2 separate regions of the Homo sapiens genome follow, and region 2 is linked to region 1. Evidence: promoter capture Hi-C in human tissues and cell types (Jung and others, 2019). All regions are on one chromosome and are shown on one strand. The core of a region is centred on a gene start or on the middle of the fragment in contact, and the rest is flanking DNA. Distances in the headings are between cores, read along the strand shown. Region 1 holds the start of ARHGAP12 (Rho GTPase activating protein 12). Region 2 has its middle 45 kb from the start of LINC02644.

The links. Contacts are between HindIII fragments. The study calls those that stand out against the background at their distance.
Region 2: a fragment that was not itself captured here is called in contact with the fragment with the promoter of ARHGAP12 in region 1 in 1 of the 25 tissues and cell types used here (dorsolateral prefrontal cortex).

The regions. Positions count from the first base shown.
Region 1 is chr10:31,924,270-31,932,090 of GRCh38, reverse strand. ARHGAP12 (Rho GTPase activating protein 12) reads left to right here and starts at 3,260. Exons shown (of 20, transcript NM_018287.7): 1 at 3,260-3,408. It overlaps LOC107984219 (a long non-coding RNA gene), which reads right to left. Exons shown (of 3, transcript XR_001747415.2): 1 at 4,048-7,821; 2 at 3,269-3,429. RefSeq lists a silencer at 3,089-3,588. The HindIII fragment of the contact is 14,818 bases long and covers 1-7,821 here.
Region 2 is chr10:30,674,469-30,682,289 of GRCh38, reverse strand. No RefSeq gene overlaps it. Among named protein-coding and RNA genes, the nearest start is that of LINC02644, 45 kb to the left of the region's middle. RefSeq lists an enhancer at 1-368. The HindIII fragment of the contact is 6,171 bases long and covers 1,328-7,498 here.

The sequences.
Region 1 (7,821 bases), core at 2,011-4,510:
CTCTACTAAACTTGAAGAAAAATAGAGTACTTCTGAAAATTTATATACATTTGATAAAATGTATACTAAGCCTCAAAATAAATGTACCTGGATTTTAAATTATTACGGTAAGAAACAGACATCATTCAATCTGAACAAAAACTCTGAGGTTTTCAAAAGTTTGCCTATGAGCACTAGCTTACCTGATTTTATTTATTTATTTATTTATTTATTTATTTGAGACATGGTCTCACTCTGTTACTCAGGCTGGAGTGCAGTGTCACAATCTTGACTAACTGCAACCTCCACCTCCTGGGTTGAAGTGATCCTCCTACTTCAGCCTCTGGAGTAGCTGAGACCACAGGCACACACCACCATGCCTGGCTATTTTTTTTTTTTTGTATTTTCATTAGAGATGGGGTCTTGCCATGTTGCCCAGGTTGGTCTTGAATTCCTGAGCTCAAGCAATCTGCCCGCCTCAGCCTCCCAAAGTGCTGGGATTATAGGCATGAGCCACTGCACCCAGCCTCCTTGATATGTTTATTTTACTCAGGTAAACTTTTATAAAACAGAAGAAGCCTGAATGTTTTAATAACAACAACAACAACAAAAAGATGCCAGAAAAATTTTAAACATTTTCACTATTTGAATAGATAAAACATTCTGAAATTTTGAATATCAAAAAGTTTAAATATGAATACAATGAAGTCTATTTCTTATGCTTTCCATCTACTGTGTTCTCATACCTCATGTTACTTTGTCCTAGTTTAATGCATATACAATTTAATACAATATTCTGTACCGTATTTCTGTGTTTTTCACTTAACAAAAAAATCTTGGAGATCTTAATGTTAAAACAAAGAACTTTCTGTTTTTTTGATTAACAGCTGCACAATGTTCAAACATATGGCTCTATCATAATTTAACTAGTATCCTGTTGATAGATACTTAGCTTGTTTCCAATCTTTTGCTATTCTCAACAATAAGAAACACCTTGTTATTTCTTATGTGTGGAAACATCTGTGGCATAAATCCCTGGAAATGAAATTCAAGGCTCCGAGTATATATGCATTTGTAATTTTAATACATACTGCCAAATTCCTGTTTCTTTATAGCCCAGCCAAAGTAGTGATGCCAGATATAATTTTGTTTTTTCATTTAAAAATATATAATGAAAAGTAGGTTACTTATTAAAGAACTAGGAAGAAAGTAGGACAAGTTTATGCAAAGTACAGACTACATTTTCACCTAAAAATACATTTAACAGGAATCTATTGTGCATCTACCGTATGCCAAGTGCTTTTAGGCACTTGGGATATACACACAAACAAATCAGACTCAAATCTCTGCCTGTGTGTGGAGCTTATATTTCAGTTCTACATTTTGGAACTCTCTGCTACTTCATAAGAAGCCAGTTAAATGTCAAAATCCTGAAAATGATCTGTTGAAATCCTGAGCACAGGCGCCAGACATATGCTACAAGTGTTATTTAAAAACTAACTAGAGGCAGTGTTACATATGATCATAGCTCTCCATCAGGTTCTTTTAAAACAACACACTAGCGAGAAAGCTCTTTTTATCCGCCTCCATCTGCTGTTGGTGGTGATCAGCATACTGTGGGCATTGTGGTATCATCCGAGATTAGGCTGTGAAATAGGAAGTGGGGTTACAGGCAGATCCGCAAGTGTATGCAAACTGTTGAGTTCTATCTCTTGCTAAAACCAAGGGTGCCCAATTCAGGTTTGGAGAGTAGGGAAAGTAAGGTTATCAGCGCATTCCTATCAGGGTCGTTTTCTTTTTTGCACTGCTCTTGTTCTGGTTTTATAAGGAGAACACAAGCAGAGTCTATGGAAAATAGTTGCCAAAGCATACAGGAAATACTCCTTATACTGAACAAATGCAAGAAAACAGAACGGGTTAGAAACCGAGGGAGACAAAAAGGCAGTGGGTGCCAAGGACTGTGAAAAGCAAATGCAACGATAGAGACAGCACAGTCTCAGGCTTATTTTTCAAAAATTCTCATTGTAAGCCTCTTTCCTTTCTAAATGGAGACTATCTTAACACTTTAGCTCGCATTAGACTTAATTTAATAAGAAGGTTGTAAACCACAGCTGTTAAAGTCTTGCCACTGCCCTACCGGATTCTTCGCATCCTGTAAGGCACAATTCGGAGTTCAGCTGGTTGATAAGGAAGCCAGGCATTGTGGCATCTTCAAGTACGAAGTGAAGCACAGGAAAGAGCCAACTCCGGAGAGTAGCTCTTCATTGCTTGAATCATACATATGCTTGTTTTTTCCCCCCTCTCCTTTCTGGTCTCTATTATTAACAAATATTTCATCCTGGCACAACAGGCACAATCAACAACTGGTTAAGGAATGAGTAGTTACTGAAGTCCCAACGCCTCTCAGTTATTTTTCTCACACTCACTGTATTCTAGACCTAGAAGCCAGCTCTCATTTGAAAGCTGAGGTTCAGAAGGGTGAAGTGCCAATAAATGGCAGAAGCCAGGTCTCTTTCCTGATTCCCATTCCAGCTGAGCTCCTCCTGCCACTGGATCACCATCAAAGACCTGCCAAAGCTGTTACTTCCGGGTTCGGTGCTGCCACAGTGCAAACGGGGATGACTTTGGACAATGACCCTGTGGCCCCCGCAGGGCTCGCACCCTCAGGCCCGTGGAAGGCTAAATGCTGACGGACTGGTTCTGCCCTGGAGCGGCTCTCCGCGTCCCAGGGGTCTCCTCAGTCCCGAGTGTGCACAGCGGGTCCTGCCACGTACCCTGGCGACCCCAGCAATGGACTCAGTGCCCCGGGTCCCTTTCCGTCTCCCTCAGGCGGCGTGCAGCACTTTTTCGGGTGTCCCAGTGGAATTTCCGGGCCCGTGAACGACTGACCCACGCCCGGCCGCAGCTCCAGGGGCCGACGAAGGGAGCGCTAGGGCCCACGGCAGGGCCGTCTTTGCCCGGGCTCCATTCCTGCCACCCTGGCGCTATGTCCGCCCTTCCCTGGTTTTCCCTACGAGCGTTTTTTTAACGCTTCCCACTCCTTGTTTACAAAGTGCTGAGCCCCCTTGACCGCAGGCTCCCGCGCCGGCCCGAGTTCCCACACCGTACGCTGGCTGCCCCCTATTCGGATCCCCGCCGGGCGCCGCACCCCCTAGCCACCCCAGACCGTCCCGGAGACCCGCGCCCGCCCAGCTCGCCCGGGCCATCACGTGAGCCTCCCGCCCCGCCCCCGCGCGTCACGTGAGCCCCGCCCCCGCGCCGGCGCGCTCCGACGTGCCCTGTAACTTACCCTCCCTCAGAGGCCAGCCTGCGGGGACGGGCCGGCCGCGGCCGTAGCCGTGTGAACGCTCTTCGGGCTCGCGTCGTCGACCCGCAGCCGCGGGGCGGACTAAGAAGGGAGCCGCCTGCTGCGAGGCCGCCGGGCTCCCGGTGAGGTGCAGGGCGCGGGTCCTGGCGGACGGAGGGCAGGTTGGCGAGGCGCTGCACAAAGGCGCGCCGGGGCCGGGCTGTGCCCGCCGAGGGCGGTGGAGTCGGGGGGAGGCGTGTGCGGGAGGCGCGGCGGCGGCGGCGGCGGCGCCGCGGAGGTGCGCGCAAAGGGAGGTCGGGCGCGCAGCGAGGGGCTCTGGGCGCGGGGGTTAGGCGCCGAGGGGGAGGGGGCCGGCGCAGCCTATTGGCTGACGTGGGCGAGAGGGTTTAAATGGCCCGAAGTTGTGGCTTCTCTGCCCCCTGGGTTTCCTGACTTCCTGTGTGAGGGCAGCGCCCGCCCGCCCCGCCCCCAGGGAGGAGAGTGTGAGGGTGCGCGGGTGTGTGTGTGAGTGCGGGAGAGTGCGCGCGTGTGTGCACAAGGCGGGTGTGTGCGTGTCTATGTGCAAAAGGCGGGTGTGTGCGCGCGCGTGTGTCTGCAAAAGGCGGGTGTGTGTGTGTGTGTGTGTGTGTGCGCAAAAGGCCGGCCCGGCCCCTCCCGCGCCCTGGGCCCACTCCCTAATCGCGGTGGGGCTTGCAGGCCTCCACCCACCCGGGGAGCCCACCCGGGGAATCCACCTGGGGCGTCCCTCGAGGACTGTTGACCTTAAACCGGACACTTTCTTCTTTGCGGTCTTTCCCGGTGCCCTGCCCCTGCTGGATGGACGTGCATTCGCTCCCCTCCAGCTTATCTGGGCGGAATCTCCTCAAAGTCCTTGAATTGAAAAATCCTCTTTACCAGCGTGCAGCCCGCCTCCCATCTCAGGGGAGCTGGTTGTCTTCTCAGAACGGCTGTCCTTTACGCGTTGCTATCTTAAGTGACTGCAGACCCTTTGAGAAGAAATGGCCACACGGTCTTCGTTAGAGAAAAAGGCACGCCCTTCAGCTTTCGAGGCGTGTGATGTTTTCCTTTTGACTGCAGCTGCAGTTTTGTAAATGTATTTTCAAAGGCTAAAGCACGACGTTGAAAGTACACCTTTATCGAAAGTTTTAATGTCATCCCAAGTGGAGTGTTTGTTGTGGATAGAGGCTTTTAGCACTCTAATAACACGATTGGTTGTGGCTGGCTTTTGGGTTAATCATGACATTGAGAAGTAGATTTTATCGACTATTTAGGCATGCGTTCCTAAAGGGAGGTGGTGGAGGAAGGAAGGCTCACTCGGGTTCTGATTCAGGTTCTGCCACCCGACTTCTAGAGGTTAGACCTTGGGAGACTCCGGGTGTTTCAATGGAAGTGTTAAAAATAAGTATCTAGCCCCTAGCCACGCCTCTTTCATACTTAAAAGTCGGGAACGATGGCCTAGATGTGTGTGTACTTGCCCATATCGCCTTTTCTTTATCTGTAGGAGGGTGTTTTACAGAATCGGTCATCTTCCTCTACCTCCTCTGGTCTGAATAGGCATTTTGGCTATTTTTATTTTGCCTTGGAAACGTTTCAGAGCTGGGTTTTGAGAGCCCAAAGCAGGCAGTGAAAGCGTGACCCCCACCCATGCCACCTGACGAGCCAGACCGTCTGCGCACATATGTGCGACCCCTGGTTGCATGCGGCTCCACTGTTCTAAAAGTGTTTCTCTGTGGGGGAAAAAGAAACCCCAGAAGTGTAATATAATGTGTGTATGTATATTTATGCGCCAATATTTGTTGATAGATTTCTGTTCGTACTTCATCAAGCTGGAGAAGACTGATGACTCATTGATTGTTAAGATAATGCCGTCTGTATAGTTAGTTATATATATATTAGTTGTTCATATATAATTATCAATACATTGCATCTCTTTCGGTTTTATATTTGCTAATACCAGTTGTTTCGAGGTGCAAATGAAAATAGATTAAGTGCTGTAGAAAAACAGCATGTTACTTGTAGTTAATCATTTGACTTTTCTTTAATTAGAAAGAATCTGCTCAGTGGTTTTTTAGTAGGCTGATAGAAAGTGAACTTTACAAATTTTTAAGTACTCTACGTAAGTGATATTACTGAAAATAATACGGGTGATTAAAATTTTTAAATGGAGTAAAAACTAAATAGTGGTGATCTGTTTAACCATTAAACAGTAGTACTAATATTTTACTTACCTGAGAAAATGGGCATCACAGTTTTACAATAAATCATGGGAGAGAAAAGTGAAATTAAACTTTTGTCCTGTATTTAACAATTTTGGCTAGAATTGCAAATATGCACTATTTTGTAGTATGAATCAGATGTGAAAGGTGTCGTAGTACGACATAGCATCACTGTACTTCAAATCGGGCTTTTCAGATTACCTCTTTTGAGGAACCTATTGGGCCACTATCCTTGTGGTTTTTTTTTTTTTTCTTCAGTTAGCTGGCCCCGGCTCATTGGTATATGGCTTTGCTGTGATTCAGCCATTTCCCTATTACTTTCATTGACTTCATGGACTTAATGAATATTCTGCAGTTTCGTTTTGTAATTGATTAGCTCTTTAATTGAACTGAACTGCCAAATGGTGTAGTCTCTAAGCCTCCTTCCCCTGTTGATAATCTAGTGCTTCTCAAATTTTAACGTGCATAGGAATCACCTGCACTTCTAATATCCACTTGGTCATATGGATGCTGTTCTGCCAGACCACAGACCACTGCTGTCCAATAGAAATGTAATGCCTATATAAATTACTTGTGCTTAAAGTTTCTAGTATTCACATTATAAAAAGTAAGCACGTGGAAAAAAAGTGAAATAAATGAATATATTTTACTTAGTATATTCACAATATCATTTTAACATGTAATAGGAAAATTATTAATGAGATATTTTATGTTCTTTACATTGGACCAGGTTTTTTGAAATATCAAGTGTGTTTTACACTTAGAGCATTTCTCAATTTGCATTAGGCACATTTGACTAGTGACTGCTGTATCGAACAACAGTTTTGGAGTCTAAAAGTGTAGACCAATGTTACTCTTAGTGTATTTTCAGATTGGCCTCATCAGCAATCCTTGAGAATGTAAATTTTAGGGCCCCACCTCATACCGGTTGTTGTTAGAATATCTAGGGCTAGAGCCTGTAATCTGTGGTTTGAAAACGCTCTGGGATATGGCTATACAATGTATATGTGGTATTCTGGATGGGACCCTGGAACAGAAAAAGGACATTAGGAGAATACTAAGGAAATCTGAATGAAGTGTGGAAATTGTTATGTGTCAGTGTTGGTTGATTGAATATGACAAATGTACCATACTAACATAAGTTGTTAATAGGGATAACTGGGTCCAGAGTACATGGGAACTCTGTGGACTATCTTTGCAGTAATTATGTAAATCTAAAACTCTTTTAAAATAAGAAGTTTATTTTTAGAAAAGTTCTTCAGATTATTCCATTGCTCACTAAAAGTTTGAGAATCCAGTGATCTAGATTATTAATCACTTGTACTGCTACAGCTTGTTTGGGCAGGATGGTGGCCAGTATTGGGTCTGGTAGGATGATGATAATAGTTTTTTTGTAGTAAGACCTAAAACTTTTAAAGCACTTGCCATGCTCCATGCACTATTTCAAGTGCCTTACACACATTTACTTAATTCTCCCAGTATGCAGTATGTACTACTAATAAGCTGCACTTTGCAGATGGAAAAAACTGAAGCCCAGAGAGGTTAAATGACTTGTCCAGAGTCACACAGCGAGAGACAGAGACAGGATGTTTTATAAATTATCAGTGCGTTTGTGACTATTTTTCTACTCTCACAACTTTTGCTTCCTTGAGTAAGCACTGATTAATGTAGATACTCTGTGACGTCTGAAAGTTACAAAGTTTTTTTTCTTTCTTCTCACAAACATCTTTTGAGGTTTGTATTGTTTGCTTTGTTTTACAGGCAAGTTAAGGTGCCTAGGGTCCTGAGAGCTGATAAATGGTAAAGCCTAGATTTAAAATTTAGACCTCTGACTCCAAGTTCTGTGCTCTTTTCCTTCCCCACAGCAGAATTCAGAATATGTTATGAGGTTAGAGTGACATCTTTTAAAGTTGGCTGAAAATTTCCTATATTTTGCTACATAATATATATTTTTAAATTTCAGTTTTATTAAAGTGTAATGTACATACATAAAATAAACTAACATTCAACAATAAAAAAGAATGATCTATGGAGACAACATGAGTGAATCTCAAAAGCATTAATCTAAGTGAAACATGTCAGACACAGAAGGCTACATACTATATGATTTGTATTTCTCTATTACAGCTTTTGCTTCCTTGAGTAAGCAGTGATTAATGTGATACCATCTATCATGCTTTATATCTAAGTGCTTTTTTTCGTGTTTTCTCTTTCCGTTCTTACAAGGATCTTTTGAGGTTTGTACTGTTTCCTATTTTAGAGATGGATTGTACCACAGTTTGTATTCACAAGTTCATAGGCCTTTGAGTTTTCAATTTC
Region 2 (7,821 bases), core at 3,164-5,663, 1.3 Mb after region 1:
CTGCTATCTGACTTTACATGGCTCTATAAGGAGGTAAATAATATATAGGCTGTTTATACTCCAAAGAATTTAACAAAAATCTATCACAAGTTGCTCTTCTATTTTGAACTCAAAGTGTGAAAACAAAGAAGATGGATATCTTTGTCCGTTTGCTTTTTCTCAGCTTCTTCATTATTGTCTTGTTTTTTCCTTTTAATTTTTTCTTTCCTTGTTTAGAGAAGGACATATGTACATTAATAAGTACTGTAGCATTTCCCAGGTTTAGCCGATACAAGTTGAGTGTTGACTGGAATCGTAAGAGAGAATTGGAGAAGAATCTGAACAGAAACCTCTACCCCATCTGTCCTTTATTCTTTCAAAGATAGATCCCATGAATGTGGTGGGGAGAGGCAGAGGGAGAGGGTGGAGGAGAAAATGAGTATTTGTGTATGTGTATGCACATGTGTGTGTGTGTGTGTGTGTGTATAGAAGGTAGTGAAACAGGTAGAAAGGACGGTCTTCTTTTAAAGATGGTCAGAGACTTGGTAAGTCACAGCTGGAAACTATGCAAAGAATGAATTAACATGAATGCTTTTAGGTTGCATGATGTTGCTGATGGGTTTGCTTCTGTCTTTATACATCGACTGAGAAATCATAGCAAATCTCACTTAATGTTTCTCACACAGGGATGTGATCCAACAAGAGAGAGCACAACTAAGTCGTATTATAAGGATTAGGGTAGATTTAAGGGTAAAACTCCTCCACAACCGGAGAGCTTCATGGGAAGAAAATACTGTGATCTGGCTTTTAAATTTTTATCTTATTCACATCTAGTTAAACTAAACTATAAAGGAAGAAATTATAAGAGCACGTATTAAGCAATAGAAAAAAGGTCAAAGTAATAAAGTTGTACTTTTCAGTTTTCAAAAACGCTAGCATCATTTCGATTTCTACACACTGTGAAAGAAATTTAGCTTTGCCCCTTCCTTAAGAGAAATTTCAGTCCCTTGTCACTGCATGCAGCCTCAAATAGCCTGAACAAGAGATGAAGATCACGGGTCTAGGCTCAGACCTTGAAGTAATTGTTTTCCAGTCCTGTCACCATCTACCAGCTCCTAAGATGAAAAGAAGGGAATAAAGTGAAATCTTCTTCTGGTACAGCCCTGAAGCATGAGAGAAAGGAATTCAGGCTGAAGCCTGACACAGAGACAAACAGTCCATTTAGACAGAGCCTGTGTGCTGTTTAAATGCTCTCTTTTCTTCTCTGAACCTCTGTATTATTAAGTATGAAGACACCAGTACTGCTGGAGGAAAGAAAAGGAGTGACTTGACCTCTGAGAACACAGATGAGCTAGTGCTACATACTTAGTATATAAAATATTTACATTCAGCTGGGAAAAACTGGTCAGAAGTAAAAATATAGAATTTTTTGAAATTTTAATTTTGAAGTGATGAAACATAAATGTCTTTGGCAAATGTTATTTTCTCTTAAACTTAACAATATATGGAGAGATATTCCATGTTCATGGATAAGAAGACTCAATTTTGTCAAGATGTCAGTTTTTCCCAACTCGATCTATAAATTCAATGCAGTTCCAAAGTCCCTGCAAAATATTTTGAACATATTGACAAACTGATCATAAAGTTTACATGGAGAGTCAAAAGACCCAGAATAGCAAACACAACACTGAAGGGGAAGAAAAAAGTTGGAGGACCAACACCACTCAACTTCAAGACTTACTATAAAGCCTCAGTAATCAAGATTGTGTGGTACTAGTAAAAGAATAAACAAATAGATCAATGAAATAGAGAGCTCAATAGTAGATTCATATAAATATAGTCAACTGATCTTTGACAAGGAGCAAAAGCAATAGAATGAAGAAAAGATACTGCTTTCAACAAATGGGTGCTGGAATAACTAGACACTCACATGTGAAAAAAAAAAAAAAGATCCAGGTACAAATCTTCCACCATTCACAAAAATTAACTCAAAATGGATCACAAAGACCTAACTGTAAAATTCAAAACTATAACACTCCTAGAAGATAACGTAGGAGAATATTTAGATTATTTTGGGTTTGATGATTAGTTTTTAGATGTAACAGCAAAGGCAATATCCTTGAAAGAAATAACTAACAAGCTGGACTTCACTGAAATTAAAAACTTCTGTAAAAGACACTGTTAAAAGAATGAGAAGACAAACTACGAATGGGAGAAAATATTTGCAAAAGACATGTCTGATAAAGGACTGTTACCCAAAATATGCAAATAACTCTTAAAACTCAACCATAGGAAAACAAACAACCAGATTAACAAATGGGAAAAAAATCTAAATAGATACCTCACCAAAGAAGATATACAGATAGAAAATAAGCATATGGAAATATGCTGAATATCTAATTTGCAAATCCCTAATGATGGGATTTGCAAATTAAAACAAAGTGACACTATTACACATCAATTAGGATGGCAAAAACCCAAGCACTGACAACATCAAATGCTGGCAAGGATATGAAGCAACAGGAAGTCTCATTCATTGCTGGTGGAGATGCAAAATGGTGCAGCCACTTTGGAAGACAGTTTGGAGGTTTCTCATAGAACTAAACATACTCTTACCATGTGATAAAGCAATCATGCTCCTTGATACTCAAATGAGTTGAAAACTTATGTCCAAACAAAAGCCTGCACATGGATGTTTATAGCACTTTTTTATAACTGCCAAGATGTGGAAGCAACCAAACTGTCCTCCAGTAGATGAATAGATAAGTAAACTGTGGCATGCCCAGGTAATGGAATATTATTTGGCACTAAAAAGAAAAAAGCTTTCAAACCATAAAAAGACATAGAAGAATCTTTTTCTTTCCTTCCTTCCTTCTTTCTTTCTTTCCTTCCTTCCTTCCTTCTCTCTCTCTCTCTCTTTCTTTCTTTCTTTCTTTCTTTTCTTTCTTGCTTTCTTTCATGCTTTCTTTCTTGCTTTCTTTCTTTCTTCTTTTTCTTTCAGATGGAGTCTTGCTCTGTCACCCAGGCTGGAGTGCAGTGGCACGATCTCTGCTCACTGCAACATCTGCCTCCCTGGTTCAAGCGATTCTCCTGCCTCAGCCTCCCGAGTAGCTGGGATTACAGGCATCCGCCACAATGCCTGGCTAATTTTTGTATTTTTAGTAGAGACGGGGTTTCACCATCTTGGCCAGGCTTTTCTAGAACTCCTGACCTCGTGATCCGCCTGCCTTAGCCTCTCAAAGTGGGATTACAGGCATGAGCCACCACGCCCAGCCAGAAGAATCTTAAATGTATATTGCTAAATGAAAGAAGCAAATCTGAAAAGGCTACATAGCGTATGATTACAACTAGATGACATTCTGGAAAAGGCAAAACTATGAGACAGTAAAAACTTACAGGTTGCCAAGGACTGGGCAGTGAGAGTGACGAAGAGACAGCACACAGAGGATCTTCAGGGCAGGGAAACGATTCTGTATGATAGTGTAATGGTGGACATATGTCATTATGTATTTGTCAAAACCGAGAGAATGGACCACACCAAGAGTAAATTTTAACATAATCTATTAACTTTGGGGATAGTGATGTGTCAATGTAAGTTCATCAATGGTAGCAAATGTGCCACTCTGGAGGGGGATGTTGATAATTGGGGTGGCTGTGTGTGGGAGGGCAGGGATGATGTAGGAACTCTGTACTTTCTGCTGTGAACCTACAACTGCTCCAAAAAAATAAATTCTTCTGAAAAATATATCTAGTTGTCCCTCAGCTTCTATGGGGGACTGGTTCAAGGACCTCCTACAGATACCAAAATCCACAGATGCTCAAGTCCCTGAAATAAAATGGGGTAGGATTTGCACACAGCCTGTGCACATCCCCGCTGTGTACTTTAAATCATTTCGTGATGACTTATAATACCTAATACAAGGTAATGTTATGTAAATAGTTGTTCTGCTGTATTGGTTTTTAATTTTTTAACTGTTGTATTGTTCTTTCTTATTGGTTTTATTCCCAAGTATCCCTAGTTGGTTGAATCCTTGGATGCGGAACTGGAAGAGATGAAGGGCCGACTGTATACACTTAAAGACTTCAGTAATATATCTTTTCCTTTAAAGTTTAATATTGGCTTATTTCAAAGAAACACAAGCTCATTTCCCCCGTTCGTGATGGAATAGGAAGTTTGCTCCACATTTCAGCCCCTTTCTTGGGGTGGACACTGGCTGGGTACGTGGGGCCTGGGCTCTTAAAACCAGCATTTCCAGCTTCGGGGGAAGGAACCAGGAGAGTGAGGGAAAGGCCGCCCCAGGGAGAAGAAGTGGGGAGTTTCCATCTGTGAAGAGGCGAGATGACTACGGGAGGACCCCAGACACCTTCCCTGTCAGCTTCGCATGTGAAACCCTGAGCCACTCATTCAATAACTGCTGGTGCTGCTGGAGCAGGCCCATCGCGGCACTGTCAGAGGCCACCTGACAGCTAAGAAAGCCCCAGTCCTGCTGGGGAGGCAAGGCCCTAGAGGGAGGGGACAGAGGCCCTAGTGGGAGGGGACAGAGGCCCTAGTGGGAGGGGACAGAGGCCCTAGAGGGAGGGGACAGAGGTCTTAGTGGGAGGGGACAGAGGCCCTACGAGGGAGGGGACAGAGGGCCTAAGAGGGAGGGGACAGAGGGCCTAAGAGGGAGGGGACAGAGACCCTACGAGGGAGGGGACAGAGGCCCTAGTAGGAGTGGACAGAGGCCCTAGAGGGAGGGGACAGAGGCCTCAGTGGGAGGGGACAGAGGCCCTAGAGGGAGGGGACAGAGGCCTCAGTGGGAGGGGACAGAGGCCCTAGAGGGAGGGGACAGAGGCCCTAGTAGGAGTGGACAGAGGCCCTAGAGGGAGGGGACAGAGGCCTCAGTGGGAGGGGACAGAGGCCCTAGAGGGAGGGGACAGAGGCCCTATGAGGGAGGGGACAGAAGCCATAGAGGGAGGAGACGGAGGCCCTATGAGGGAGGGGACAGAGGCCCTAGAGGGAGGGGACAGAGGCCCTATGAGGGAGGGGACAGAGGCCCTAGAGGGAAGTGATGGGGCAAAGCCCTACAGAGAGGAGATGGGAACCTGGCATTGATGGAAAAGCGGAGCTGTTTTGACACCAAGGACATTCCACGGGGAAATAAAAAAACAACTGTTAATATTTTTCATGTTATTCACCTACGGAGTGGCTCAGTCCAGGCAAGGTCTCCCTTCCAGGGTGGGAGTCCAAGGTCTCCCTTCCAGAGCGAGTACAGCGAGGATGGAGGGAAGGGTGAGGGGGTTCATGGTCTCTTGCTTTAATAGGGCCATTGGAACCAGCTCCCCCTGGTTCTTTAATAGGGTCACTGGAGGGGCCTCCCCTCTCTGAGTCTTCCTCCCTGTCCCTCCACACCCCAAACTGCCTCCACCATATCCTCCTCCTCTATGAACTGAGCAGGACAACATCCTCACTGAGCCGGAGCAAAGAACACGGACGCATCTCCTGGGCTCCTGACTCAGGATCCAGGCTTGGAGGCTGAAAGGGGACACTCTCCTCTTAAACCAGTTTCATGACTATGAGGTGAATTAATGCCATCAAGTCCACCTGAAAATCTGAGCCAAGGATCAGTGTGTGTGTGACTGACCCTAAATATATGAAGAACCAATTAAACACACATAGGCACACACTTAAAGACACACACACACTCTCATAGACACACACACACAGACACGCTCTCATAGATGCACACTCAGCACACACACTCATAGATACACACACAGTCTCATGGACACACTCTCATAGACACAGACACACTCATACAGATATACTCTCACAGACACACTCAGAAACACACTTATAGATACACACACTTTCATAGACACACACACTCATACAGACACATACACTCATAGATACACTTTCACAAACACACACTGTCAATGGTACACACAGACATTCTCTTATAGATACACAATCTCATGGACACACGCAATCGTACTGAAACACACACAGTCCTCTTTCACAGTGAAATGTAGCAAAGAAATTATTGCCCCAAATTAAACAGAAGCTCCTCCCCTGCGGCTCAGAAATTGCAGTGAGGCTTAAGATGAGCGGCTTTTCCTCACCCGATTAGTCGACACAAAAGACAGGTATTTATGGGCAGCAGGAATAGCACGATAGTAAGTAGAAGCATATACAGGTTCCTACAGAGCAAAGCAAGAGGATTTAAGATGAAGAGAAGATTTATCAGAGCGGGGCCGGGCAGGGACGTGGGGGAGGGAGAGACAAAACAATGATTTTTCTAACAGAATGTTAATTTACTCATTGCAATTTCAGTTCTCTTTTCAAGAGAGTCCTCCCTTGAATGCTAATGCTAAAGTAAATCCACACAAGCGCGGTAAATATACCTGAGTCAGCTTTGTGCAGTAATTAAATGAGTTAATTTATAGAAGATTGTCAGTTACAGAGAGAGGAACCATGACTTTCATTGACAGTTTTAACATTAAACAGAAAATATCATCTTCTTTAAAGTATCTTCATTACATGATTAAAAAATAGTTTAAGGGCACGGGCTCAGCTCTCCACTCCGGACAAAGGCTGTGTCTGGTCTGGAGATAAGAAAAGCACCAGGGAGGGTGCACGAAGGAACCACCCAGGATCAGGATTACCCACGCGAAGTGTAATTCTGGCCACCATCGAGAGGACACCTGTGTTAGAGTCAGGCTTACCCAAAGCAGATTAGAAATGGCACTATCATCCGCAACTCCTCCTTCTTCCTGCAGGTTAAAACAAACAGGGAACATGGCAGAGTACTGGAAGAGAAGAGCCTGGTCAGGGCATCGCAATCACCTTCAAGTATTTTGTGCCTGGGTTCAAACAGCAGCATGCACGTGCTCACACAATAGGGTGATGTGAACCTCAGGCCAACTCATTCCCTGACCGCAGAATGATCATCTGGAGTTTAGAGAGCATTCCCTCAGCCTTTCTCTCCCTCCCATCCTCGCACTTTAAAGTGACTTCATTCTCCTGAATTATGATCTGGAATTTCAATGGCAGCAGACACTGAGAATATAAATGTGCAGATTCACCTTTCTTAAAATTTCAGGGACTTGTTCTGGGGCTGTCATGGACACTGACCTCACAGCTGCTGAAGCACAGTGGGATATCCAGTTCCCTCTGGAACTCAGAAACAGACACAGGGTTTTAATGGCCAAGTCTATGAAGAGTTTTTTCTTCTTCGAAAAGGTCTGATTCGCTGGAAAACTATCTTCACAAAAGTTGCGGGGTCACCGTGTATGTCTTAATGCCAACTAAGCCGAAATGGGGTTGGAATTGAAAATAACTATTTGGTGAAAATAAATACAAAACCGAAAGTTAGTTGTAACAGAGAATCCTGCCAAACCACTTCTTTGAGACTTTGCTTCATTTCATTTTTCTCTCTCTGTTAAAATGAGTTACTCTGGCCTTCCCTTCCCTTCCCTCCCTTCCCCTTTCTTTCTTTCTTTCCTTCTTGCTTTGTTGCCCAGGCTGGAGTACACTGATGTGATCATGGCTCACTGCAGCCTCGACCTCAAGCAATCCTCCCACTTCAGCCTCCCGAGTAGCTGGGATTATAGGCATGCACCACCACACCTGGCAAATTTTTGTATTTTTTGGTACAGACCGGGTTTCACCATGTTGACCAAGCTAGTCTCAAACTCCTGGGCTCAAGCAGTCCTCCCACCTTGGCTCCCCACAGTACTGGGATTACAGGCATGAGCCACTACACCCAGCCCCAATATAAATCTTAATATAAAAGACCCAAAATGGGCCAGGCACAGTGGCTCATGCCTGTAATCCCAGCACCTTGGGAGGTCGAGGCA